Linked DNA regions of Homo sapiens: region 1 is linked to region 2. The links are contacts of gene promoters, found by promoter capture Hi-C in blood cells and fetal thymus (Javierre and others, 2016). All regions are on one chromosome and are shown on one strand. Each heading gives the region's core, a stretch centred on a gene start or on the middle of the fragment in contact. The rest is flanking DNA. Distances are from core to core; before and after follow the strand shown. Region 1 holds the start of PSMD5 (proteasome 26S subunit, non-ATPase 5). Region 2 holds the start of STOM (stomatin).

What was found. Contacts are between HindIII fragments. The CHiCAGO score rates a contact against its expected background, and 5 or more counts as called.
Region 1: a contact is called between the fragment with the promoter of PSMD5 here and the fragment with the promoter of STOM in region 2, in 3 of 17 cell types (naive CD8 T cells, activated CD4 T cells and total CD8 T cells). The highest score is 7.1, in naive CD8 T cells.

Annotation. Positions count from the first base shown.
Region 1 is chr9:120,838,754-120,844,294 of GRCh38, reverse strand. It overlaps PSMD5 (proteasome 26S subunit, non-ATPase 5), which reads left to right and starts at 1,373. Exons shown (of 10, transcript NM_005047.4): 1 at 1,373-1,558. The coding sequence starts at 1,386. It also overlaps the pseudogene CUTALP. RefSeq lists enhancers at 802-1,151, 1,110-1,404, 1,170-1,464, 1,352-1,651, 1,223-1,752 and 1 more. The HindIII fragment of the contact is 10,742 bases long and covers 24-5,541 here.
Region 2 is chr9:121,367,011-121,372,197 of GRCh38, reverse strand. STOM (stomatin) reads left to right here and starts at 1,948. Exons shown (of 7, transcript NM_004099.6): 1 at 1,948-2,071. The coding sequence starts at 2,011. It overlaps LOC102723324 (a long non-coding RNA gene), which reads right to left and starts at 2,305. Exons shown (of 7, transcript NR_187160.1): 1 at 2,232-2,305. RefSeq lists enhancers at 1,434-1,523, 983-1,943. The HindIII fragment of the contact is 8,041 bases long and covers 1-5,187 here.

The DNA.
Region 1 (5,541 bases), core at 124-2,623, 530 kb after region 2:
CTGTCCTTAGCTTCCTCTAAGCTTTCCAGATTTTTGTCTTTTGCCCCAAAAGTAGGAAGGCATGCACTGCAAAAGATGGGTCATCTCCTTGGCGTTGAAGACCTGTTGAGGCACAAAGCCTCTCTCCAGTTGCTTGGAATACTCGATACCCACTCAGGATTTAAGGGTCCTTCCTCCCCATCAACTTCGTATGTTGCAAAACAGCAGCGATTTTTAAAGTTCTCAAACCATCCCTTGCTCGCATGATACTTATTTGGGTTGTCCTCCCCAGATGTTTCCCATTGGTTCCCTGTAGATGTATTTGGCCTGGTTGCAGAGGGCCTTCCGGGTCAGATGCCGCCCTCTGTCATCTGGCCTTCCACCTAAAAGGTTAACTGGGTCTCCACCTTCACGATGTTTACATTACAGGGGAATACACAGCAGCTTAGAGCAGATGGGCGACCAACTCTCCACGCTGGTCTTTCTTGGTTTCCTGAGGGTAGTGGAGGACAAGAGGGGAAAGCAGGGTCTTGCTCTGTCGCCCAGGCTGGAGTGCAGTGGCACAATCACCGCTCACTGAAGCCTCGACCTCCTAGACTTAGGGGACCCTCCCGCTTCAGCCTCCCGAGTAGCTGGGACTACAGGTGCGTGCCACCACACCGCACTAATTTTTTTCCTTTTTTTTTTTTTTTCTTTTTGGTAGAGACGGGTTTCTCACTATGTTGCCCAGGCTGGTCTCGAACTCCCGGGCTCAAGCGATCCTCCCGCCGCGGCCTCCCAAAGCGCTGGGATTACAGGTACGGCCACTGCGACCAGCTGCTTCTCCTTGGTGGACTGATCAACACCAACAAGGCGGCGCACGTCCCTATTACTCACGCCTTCGTCAGGCTCCTGGAGAATATTCATCCAGTCTTCCAGAGGCATGACGCTCCGCCTCCTCTTGACAGGTGGCTGGCCCAGGATCAAGATTCCCCTCCAGGCCACCGCTCCACCTGGGGAGGCCTCAGCCGCGGCCGTAGCCGCGGTGGCCTCCATAACGGCTGCAGTCGTCCCCGCCTAGAGCCTGGTTTTGGAGCCTCGAGGACGCCGACGAGGCTGTTTAACTTCCCGTGAGTCCCCACCCTCGCCGCTCCGCTGGCCGGGAATTTGGCAAGGCTTTGCCCTACGCGGTAAACACGTAAGCCTACTGGCCTCCGCATTTCCCTGAGCAGCGACCTAGATGACGCCAGACTGAGGGAGCCGCAACCACTGGCTACAGTTGACACGGCCCTAACGGAGGCTTCTCGCGAGGCTTGGCAGCCCCATAGCCATCTCAGGGACAAGGAGGCTGTGATCAGATCTCGCGAGGTTCAGGAAAGCGCCCCGGGAACTGGGCCGCTGGGCCAGCCCCTGCGTCGGGGGGCAAGATGGCAGCCCAGGCTTTGGCGCTGCTGAGAGAGGTAGCGAGGCTGGAAGCGCCGCTGGAGGAGCTACGCGCGCTTCACTCCGTGCTGCAGGCAGTGCCGCTCAACGAGCTTCGCCAGCAAGCGGCGGAGCTGCGCCTCGGCCCGCTCTTCTCCCTGCTTAACGAGAACCATAGGTGAGAGGACCCCGGGGGCTTGAGCCGAGGAGAGGGGCACCCCTAAATATGGACATGAGAGTGGTTGAGGGCAAGAACAGCGCTTTTCCCAGTCACAGGGGAGGTGGAAAGTAGCCGAAATTTGCAGAGAAGGAAGGATCCTGGGTTCAGAGGCAGGAGATGGGGTTCAGGTTCAGCCTCTGAGAGTGCCCCAGGGTGTTTTCTCCCGTCGCCTGGCCTCGCTGCCTCTGAGCAGTGAGGCACTGCCTTCTTCATCAAATAGAAATTAAAGGAGGAAAGCAAAGCTGTCCACTTACAAGGAGCATTCCACATCTCTTTGTACAGGTTCTTGATTTGTTTCCCCTTCTAAAAGGATCCTATCCTGGCAATGTGGCAAGAACCATCAGCATTTTAAATTCACATGCTTTTTCATCCAGTCATTCTTGTTAAAAAAATTTAATGCAAGTATACGCGCACAAAATGTGCAGTTACTTTGTTCTTTCGAACCCGAGGCTGGAATCGCCCCAAAAGCAGCGGCAAGAGAGTTCCCACGAGGGAGTGCTTCAAACCTTCCCGAGATGTGGCTGGTTGGGATGACAGAAAAAGAAGCACTGAATGCCAAGGCGATCAGTCCAAAAGCGTTTAGGGGGAAACCTGCAGAGGGCTGCAGAAATTGTCAAGACGGACACCGGGAGAAAGGTGTTCCTGGGTATGTCCGCAGTGAGGGGGTCAGGGTATGGAGTTCAGATGAGAGTTTAAAGGAATTTGGCTCAGGGTTGAGGCCAGTTTCTTCCAGTGTTTTGGGCAACAACCTAGGTACCTTTATCAGGCCTGTGAATGTTCAAGGCCCCTGGTTTATGGTCAAGCCTGCTAGGGAAACCTGCCGCTGGCTAGGTCAGAGAGCAATCAAGGCACTCTGATTTTCCATCAGGACAGAGAAAGAAAGGGGGCGACTGGAGGACCCTACAACATTATATGCAAGAATATAACATATCGTGTGTGGCACCAGAACACTAGAAACAATCTAAATATCCGTTAACAGAGGATTCCAAATTATGCGCTATTACTCTGTAACACTGTGCAGTTATTTAAGTTATTGAGGTAGATGTATATATATGTATGTGGACATGGAAAGATCTCTGTGTTTTGTTTTGTTTTGTTTTGTTTGTTTGTTTGTTTTCAGACGAGTCTCGCTCTGTCTCCCAGGTTGGAGTGCAGTGGCGCGATCTCGGCTCACTGCAACCTCCGCCTCCCTGATTCACGCCATTCTCCTGCCTCAGCCTGCCGAGTACCTGGGACTACAGGCGCCCGCCACCACGCCCGGCTAATTTTTTGTATTTTTAGTAGAGACGGGGTTTCACCATGTTAGCCAGGATGGTCTCGATCTACGGACCTCGTGATCCGCCCGCCTCGGCCTCCCAAAGTGCTGGGATTACAGGCGTGAGCCACTGCGCCCGGCCAATCTCTGTGTTGTTGAATGAAAAAGAAAATCGCAGGGTATATCAATCTATAATTTTAACCTGTAATTTTTAAAAAGGATTACAATCTTCCCAACCCCCACAGGCATGTAAAACTTGTATAACATTGCAAATATCTGCAAAGGTACACCAGAAACTATTAATAGGGAAGTGGGTCTGAAAATAGTAGGACAACTTTTATTTTTGATTTTTTACACATCCGTAGTGTTTGATTAAAAACACTTTGTAGGCCCGGTGCAGTGGCTCACGCCTGTATTCCCAACACTTTGGGAGGCTGAGGCGGGCAGATCACCAGGTCAAGAGATCGAGACCATCCTGGCCAACATGGTGAAACTCCGTCTCTACTAAAAATACAAAAGTTAGGCCAGGCACGGTGGCTCACGCCTGTAATCCCAGCACTTTGGGAGGCCGAGGCGGGTGGATCACAAGGTCAAGAGTTCGAGACCAACCCGGCCAACATAGTGAAACCCTGTCTCTACTAAAAATACAAAAATTAGCCGGGCATGGTGGCACGTGCCTGTAGTCCCAGCTACTCTGGAGGCTGAGGCAGGAGAATCTCTTGAACCTGGGAGGCAGAGGTTGCGGTGAGACGAGATCGCTCCACTGCACTTCAGCCTGGGCAACAGAGTGAGATTCCGTCTCAAAAAAAAAAAAAAAAAAGCAAAAATTAGCTGGGCTTGGTAGCGCACACCTGTAGTCCCAGCTAGTTGGGAGGCTGAGGCAGGACAATCACTTGAACCTGAGAGGTGGAGGTTGCAGTGAGCCAAGATTGCACCACTGCACTCCAGCCTGGCAACACAGTGAGACTCCATCTCAAGATAATAATAATAATATAATAATAATAATAAAAACACTTTGTAGACCGGGAGCAGTGGCTCACACGTGTAATCCTAACACTTTGGGAGGCTGAGGCGGGTGGATCGCTTGAGCTTTGGAGTTTGAGACCAGCCTGAGCAACATGGTGAAACCCTGTCTCTACAAAACAAAACAAAAAATTAACTGGGCGTGCGTGCCTATAGTCCCAGCTACTTAGAGGGCTGAGGGGGAGGATCCCTTGAGCCCAGGAGGCAGAGGTTGCAGTGAGCCAAGATTGCACCACTGCACTCCAGCCTGGGTGACAGAGTGAGGCCCTTTTTTTTTTTTTTTTTTTTTTGAGACGGGTTCTCGTTCTGTTGCCCAGGCTGGAGTGCAGTGGCAGGATGTAAGCTCACTGTAACCTCGCCTCCCAGGTTGAAGCAATTCTCCTGCCTCAGCCTCCTGAGTAGCTGGGACTATAGGCACGTGCCACCACCACAACGCCCAGCTAATTTTTTGTGTTTTTAATAGAGATGCAGTTTCACCATGTTGGCCAGGCTGGTGTCGAACTCCTGACCTCAAGTGATCTGCCTTGCCTGCCTCGGCCTCCCAAAGTGCTGGGATTACAGGCATGAGCCACTGCGCCCAGCCAAGACTCTGTCTAAAAAAAAAAAAAAAAAAAAAAAGATTAAAAAAACATTTTATAATTCTTACCTGGATTCTGGGGAAAAAAAGGAAAAAAAAACCACTTTGTATTTGATAATTTGATCATTTAAAAGAGTTTTGAAATGTTTGTGATCAAAGACTTTCAAGTGACCTTACTACTTGAAAAGATTATGAACCACTGAATCAACAGTGGATGATTTCAGAGCGCTTTCTTGGCTCTGACCTTCTAAGATTCCTTCCTTTTCTGTAAGTGTTCTCCATTCATGATGTCTATCAGTTAACATTATTTGGGTCTGCCTATGAAATGTCTCTTATTTGTCTCCTCTTTAATTCAAGCCCTCATTTTTTCCCTATTGCTAGGTCTGTAGTGTTAGTCTGACTTCTCCTTACCTCTGAAATTCCTTTTCTAGCAAATTCCTTTTCTAGCAAATTCCTTCCCACCTTGTAACCCCAGTGAGCATACATCTCGAGTCAGCTGGTGCTAATCTTTTCCGTGGTTTCCCATTGCCTGTAGTGAGTTTTTAGAATGCCATTTGGGCCCTTTACAGTATATTTCCATCCTACTTTTCCAACCTCACTTTTTTCCTCCACTCCACTTCTTTTCATCTGCTCCAGCTACCATGTGGCACCCTTATTTTTCCTTAAGCCTGACTTGCACTTTCCTAACTTTACTCATACCAGCCTTTCTAACTGAAATACTTTGCTGTCTGTCCATATTCTGTCCATCCTTTTAGGCCCACTAAAGAGCCATCTCCTCCAAAATATTTTTCTCAATTATTCCAGTTGCAAATGACTGCTCCTTAGATCTGCTAAAGGACATTATTGTTATTTCTGTTAATGATAATTGACACTATTACCTATGTTATAGTTCTCTGTGTGTCTATTTCCAGTTTGTAAATTCTTTGAAGGCAGTGACCGCATTTTGTTCATGTCTGCATCCCTCTTAGGGCCCAGCACATAATGCAGTATACGCCCAATTAAATTTGAGACTCACAGAGTTTAGAGTGGCCACCTTGTCCAACCTCTCCTATTAGAGATGAAGAGACTTCCAGAGGTCATACCGCA
Region 2 (5,187 bases), core at 699-3,198:
GCCAAGGGGACTCCAGAAAACTTTAAAACTGAGTTCCCAGCCAATGACAGGACAGAAGGTCAGACTCGCCTCATTATAACTTCATCGTATTGGAGTTTAGACACAACAGCTGACCAGCATTAACGTTAAAACACAGATCATAAGACTGACAGAACAGACTGTTTGTGACAATAAGATACCAAATTATAAACAAATTATACCTAAGGTCATGCCAGGCAAAGGTTAAGGCACACATCCCTTCACTTAGAGAATAAACTGTGTTCTAACTGCCACAAGGTTGTTCTCTTTCTCTAGCAGCTTAACAAGCACTGGCCTCGAGATAAGCAATATTAAAACAATTTGCAGCTCCACCAGATGTGGCCTAATGGAACCCCTATTCCACCAGCCATCATTACAGCTTTAATTGGACAAGAGGCTGATTTCAGTAACTTTCTCCTCATAGGAAAACTACCGACCATGGACTGGCTCTGGCTAGTTTACACAGACTGCATACTTGCACACCTTCCTGTCCTGAAAAGACCTTTTGACGCATGGGGTCTAACTGTAATACATGTATTGTTATTATTTTTTAGAGTCCATCAGGCTGGAGTGCAGTGATCTGATCATACATCACTGCAGCCTCCAACTCTTGGGCTCAAGTGATCCTCCTGCCCCAGCCTCCTGACTAGTTGGGACCGCAAGCACACACCACCCCACCTGGCTATTTTTTTTTTACTTTTTGTAGAGATGGGGACGTCACCATGCAGGCCAGGCATTTAACATTTAATTGGTAACTCTTCACTCCAAAATGAACATGGGTTGTATGTTACATGCATGTTTGCTCAATGGGCATGCGTCAGGACCACCCTCATGAATATTCATAGCTCCTCCTGTCACCTGCTGAATATGCATGTCTACCCAAGCTGTTCAGCATAAAGCCGCTACTCCAACCCCTCCTCCAACGAAATGCCTGTCTCTGGTCCTGGCCATTCTCCAGCCTGCGGAATGGCCACCTTGCAGGCTGTAACCCCTTACAAGAAATAAAGTCTCCTCTCCTGTTTTTTTGTTTTTTGTTTTGTTTTTTTGAGACGGAGTCTCGCTCTGTCACCCAGGCCATCTCGGCTCACTGCAACCTCTGCCTCCCAAGTTCAAGCGATTCTCCTGCCTCAGCCTCCCAAGTAGCTGGGATTACAGGCGCGCGCCACACGCCCGGCTAATTTTTGTATTTTTAGCAGAGACGGGGTTTCACCATGTTGGCCAAGCTGGTCTCGAACTTCTAACCTCAGATGATCTACCCGCCTCGGCCTTCCAACGTGCTGGGATTACAGGCGTGAGCCACCGCGCCCGGCCTCCTCTCCTTTTCCAAATTTATACATTTTGATTTTCTTAACACACCTCACTCGAGTTCGTTCACTTCGGCTGCGGCGTGATCTGCCGGCCCTCTCAGCTCAGGCTGACCTCAGCGCCCTCACTTCGGCCACTTCTGTGTCCCTCAGTCTTCTCCCCTCAACTCGGACCTCGCGCCCTCATGACAGGGCGCCATTTTCTTCCCTCTAACTCCTCAGCCCAGAGGAGGCGCCTTGGTCCCGTACCTCTGCCCGGCAAGGCGACTTTTCTTCACTTGCACTTTTGCCTCGGGTCATCCTCTGCTGCTACCTCCCCACTATCCTCACCATCTGCTCCACGTCCCGTGGCTTCCGCCCTCCCTTCCGGTGCAGGGCCCCGGCCTCATACCCACAGCCTTGGGGGCTCTCGCCCCTCAGGCCACGCCCCTCAGGCCACGCCCCTCAGCCCACAGAACTAGCGGGAAGTGACTGCGAAGCAGTCGCGCCGTGGAGGGACAGGAGGGCGGGGATTGGGAGGTGGGTCCTCCTCGATCCTGGGCGTTGATTGGCCAACTCTCACGAGGGCGGGACCTCGATTGGGGGCGGGGCGGCAATCTGGGTCTTGTGCCTCTGGCTCCTCAGGGCATTCCCGGCGGCTCCGGGTTTGGCAACGAGGACGGGGGAGTGCGACTGCGTCTCGGGCAGCATGGCCGAGAAGCGGCACACACGGGACTCCGAAGCCCAGCGGCTCCCCGACTCCTTCAAGGGTGAGTCCCGCGTCCCCTGACCCTCCCCCGTGGACCGAGCCCCCGCCCGCAGCGTGCGCTCCGAGGTCTGACAGCCGGGCTCCTGGCCAGTCTCCGCTGCTTCGGGCTGGGCGAGATCTCAAAGCCGCGGCTCCTCCCTAGTAAACTGAGCATCACGAACCCTGTTTGGCAGACTGAGGTCACGATGGAGGGGTGGCGGGCTGCCAACGGCACGTTTCCCATCGCACGGGCCCTGGTTATCTCGCGGCCGCCAGATGCCAAGCCCCATGCCAGGGCTGCACTATCTCGTGTCACGCACGCGGACTAGGAAACGCAGAGGGAACTGGCAGCCAGCGAGGCGGGGACCGGGACCCCACATCTCACCCTTTGCCCACTCCCCTTCTTTCCCGACTCACTCTCTCGAAGGCCGCCTCCTCCACCCAGCCCTGGCCTGGCCCCAGGGTGAACCCCCTCCTCCCCCAATCCCACCTCCCGAAACTTAGACCGATTTGCAGAAGGAAGAAGTCTCTCTGGCTTTCTTCTTACCTCTCTTTCTAGCTCCACTTTCTGCCCCATTTTTCCCCCTCCGCTTTCCTCTGCGTTTTGGAGAACTCTCCTTCCCGGCTTTTGTTCCTCGCCAGGAACCCTGAGTTCTCCCACCCTCACCCCCACCCTCCCTTCCCAGTCTTCAAGGCAGGAGCTGTAAGTGGCTCAGTCTCGTTCCCCTGTGGAGGAACTGGTACTCTGGGGAGGGGGTTCCAATAAAGAGAGATGGTGGACCTCTCAGGAGTCCTGGTACCCACTCAGGAGCTCTTAGTGATCCAGAGGAATTACAGTGTTTCTAAAGATGGAATTTCAGGCAGGATGGCAGTGAAAGCAATTTAGAGGGCTGGGTGGTCCTTTCCAGGACCCCTCAAAGAACATGACATTGGAGTCATCTATTCTGATTATTTGTAAAGCCAGCTTTATCCACAGCATCTTAGCTATAAGTTCCATTTCCCTTGTCCAGGGATCCCTGTGTTCAGTTCCTTCCCAGGAGCATCAAAGGAATTACAGAAATCTTTATTCCTCACTTTTTGTCTACTAATAACGTTGCAGGTTATCTTCCCAAATGGAGAGTGTAACAGGGAGGAGTTGATGAGAATAATGGCAACCACAACAACAAAAATTGAAACTAAATAGGTCAGGCTCCGTATCACTTTTTTTTTTTTTTTTGAGACGGAGTTTCGCTTTTCTTGCCCAGGCTGGAGTGTGATCTCCGCTCACTGCAACCTCCGCCTCCCGAGTTCAAGTGATTCTCCTGCCTCATCCTCCCAAGTAGCTGGGATTACAGGCGTGCACCACCATGCCCAGCTGATTTTGTATTTTTTGTAGATACAGGGTTTCACCATGTTGGTCAGGCTGGTCTCAAACTCCTGACCTCAAGTGATCCACACGCCTCGGCCTCCCAAAGTGCTGGGATTACAGGCATGAGCCACCGCGACCCCCCCAGTGCCACGTATTTTATGTATATATTATTTTATTGAATCTTCACAACAGATGATGTGGTAGGTATTCTTATCCCCATATTATACTTGATGAAACTGATAGTCAAAGAAGTTAAATTACTTAAAGTCACTTAGTTTGTATTTAAATCTAGATTTGACTGATTCTAAAACTTGAATAGGGAAAAAATGGGTGGTAACTGCCTCTTCGATAGTTAGTTGTCTTTTCCTAGATAAAAAGGTGGGTATTAGCATGCATTCCTCAATACCCTGACCTCCTGGTGGGAAACTGCAGTGGCAAATCTGCTTGGAGTTCTTTGAGAATCAACATGATCTTTGTACTTAATGTTTATTTACAGACAAGTGGTCATAGATGAGTTTTTAACTTCCAGTTTTTTTCCTTGGTTCTACACTTAACTACTGTTTAGACAGAAATCTTTCAAGATCTAATGAAAACCACCACTTCCTCTCAAAAATTAGACATACAAATAAAATTTTGCATAGTCTGTGTTTTTTTAATGTAAACCTAACAAATTTGACGCTACTAGGAAAGGTATTGCTGGAATTTATTAAATAGAGGTTATTGAATGCTTTCCCTGTGCCAAAAGACAGTTTAAGTGCTTTACAAACATTATCTAATTGCATTCTGTAACAGCTCTACAAGGAAAAAGTCATTATTCACCATTTCACAATAAGGATACTGCGGCTCACATGGCAAAATCACAGTTTCTAAAATTTTCAGCCCTGTTTCAAACCCCGGCTATCTGATTTTCTGAATCATTTTCCCTATCCCAGAGATGGATACCAAAATGTAGAACCTTGTCTAACTTCAGTACTTTACTTAAGTTGAGAGACAATAAACAAAAAAAGCCTGGAGGAACACAGCTTCAGTGATGACTTCCAGAAGGCTGCTTGTGAAAGAAGCAGTGGAATTTTAAAAGCCTAAACTCTGCCTCTTTGTCTTTACTGAGAATTAGTCCTAGGTAGGTAAATAGCACCAGGCCTAGGGCAAGACTAGTTTTTCTTAAAGGCGATGCATTCACTTTGTAATGAAATAATGCAAGTAATTGCAAAGAATGTATCACTGTAATTAAGAGCCATGTCAACAAATAAAACCCTTTGGGAGACTGATTGTTTATTTCAGTTGTTATAGCCAATCAGATTGGAGAGAACTTTGTAACTTCTTCAATAATTAATCTGAGTTATTCCATCAGTGGTCATAAATTAACTTATGGAAGACCAAGTCTACAAAACTGGCATATTTATTCATGATTAAATAGATTTTTGGTGCCATTTGATGGTATAAATTTTACCTAGTAAAAGACAGTCACTGATTCCTAGTCATCTTTGAGGGAAAAAAAAGATGTTGATAAAGTGATACAGATGGAATTCAAAATCAGTTTTTTTAAGAAGGCATGGAAAAGCAATTTCCTGAAAACTATTGTAACTACAAAAAAAGTGAATACCCTTTCCCTGCGTCTGCCTGGTATCCTGTGCATATCTCTATCATAATGTTTATTACATAACATATTTATCAGTTTGACTCATCTGTCCCCTCCCCTCCCATAATTAAACTACACTTTTTCTTTTTGAGACCGGGTCTTGCTCTGTTGCCCAGGCTGGAGTGCAATGGTGCAGTCATAGCTCACTGTA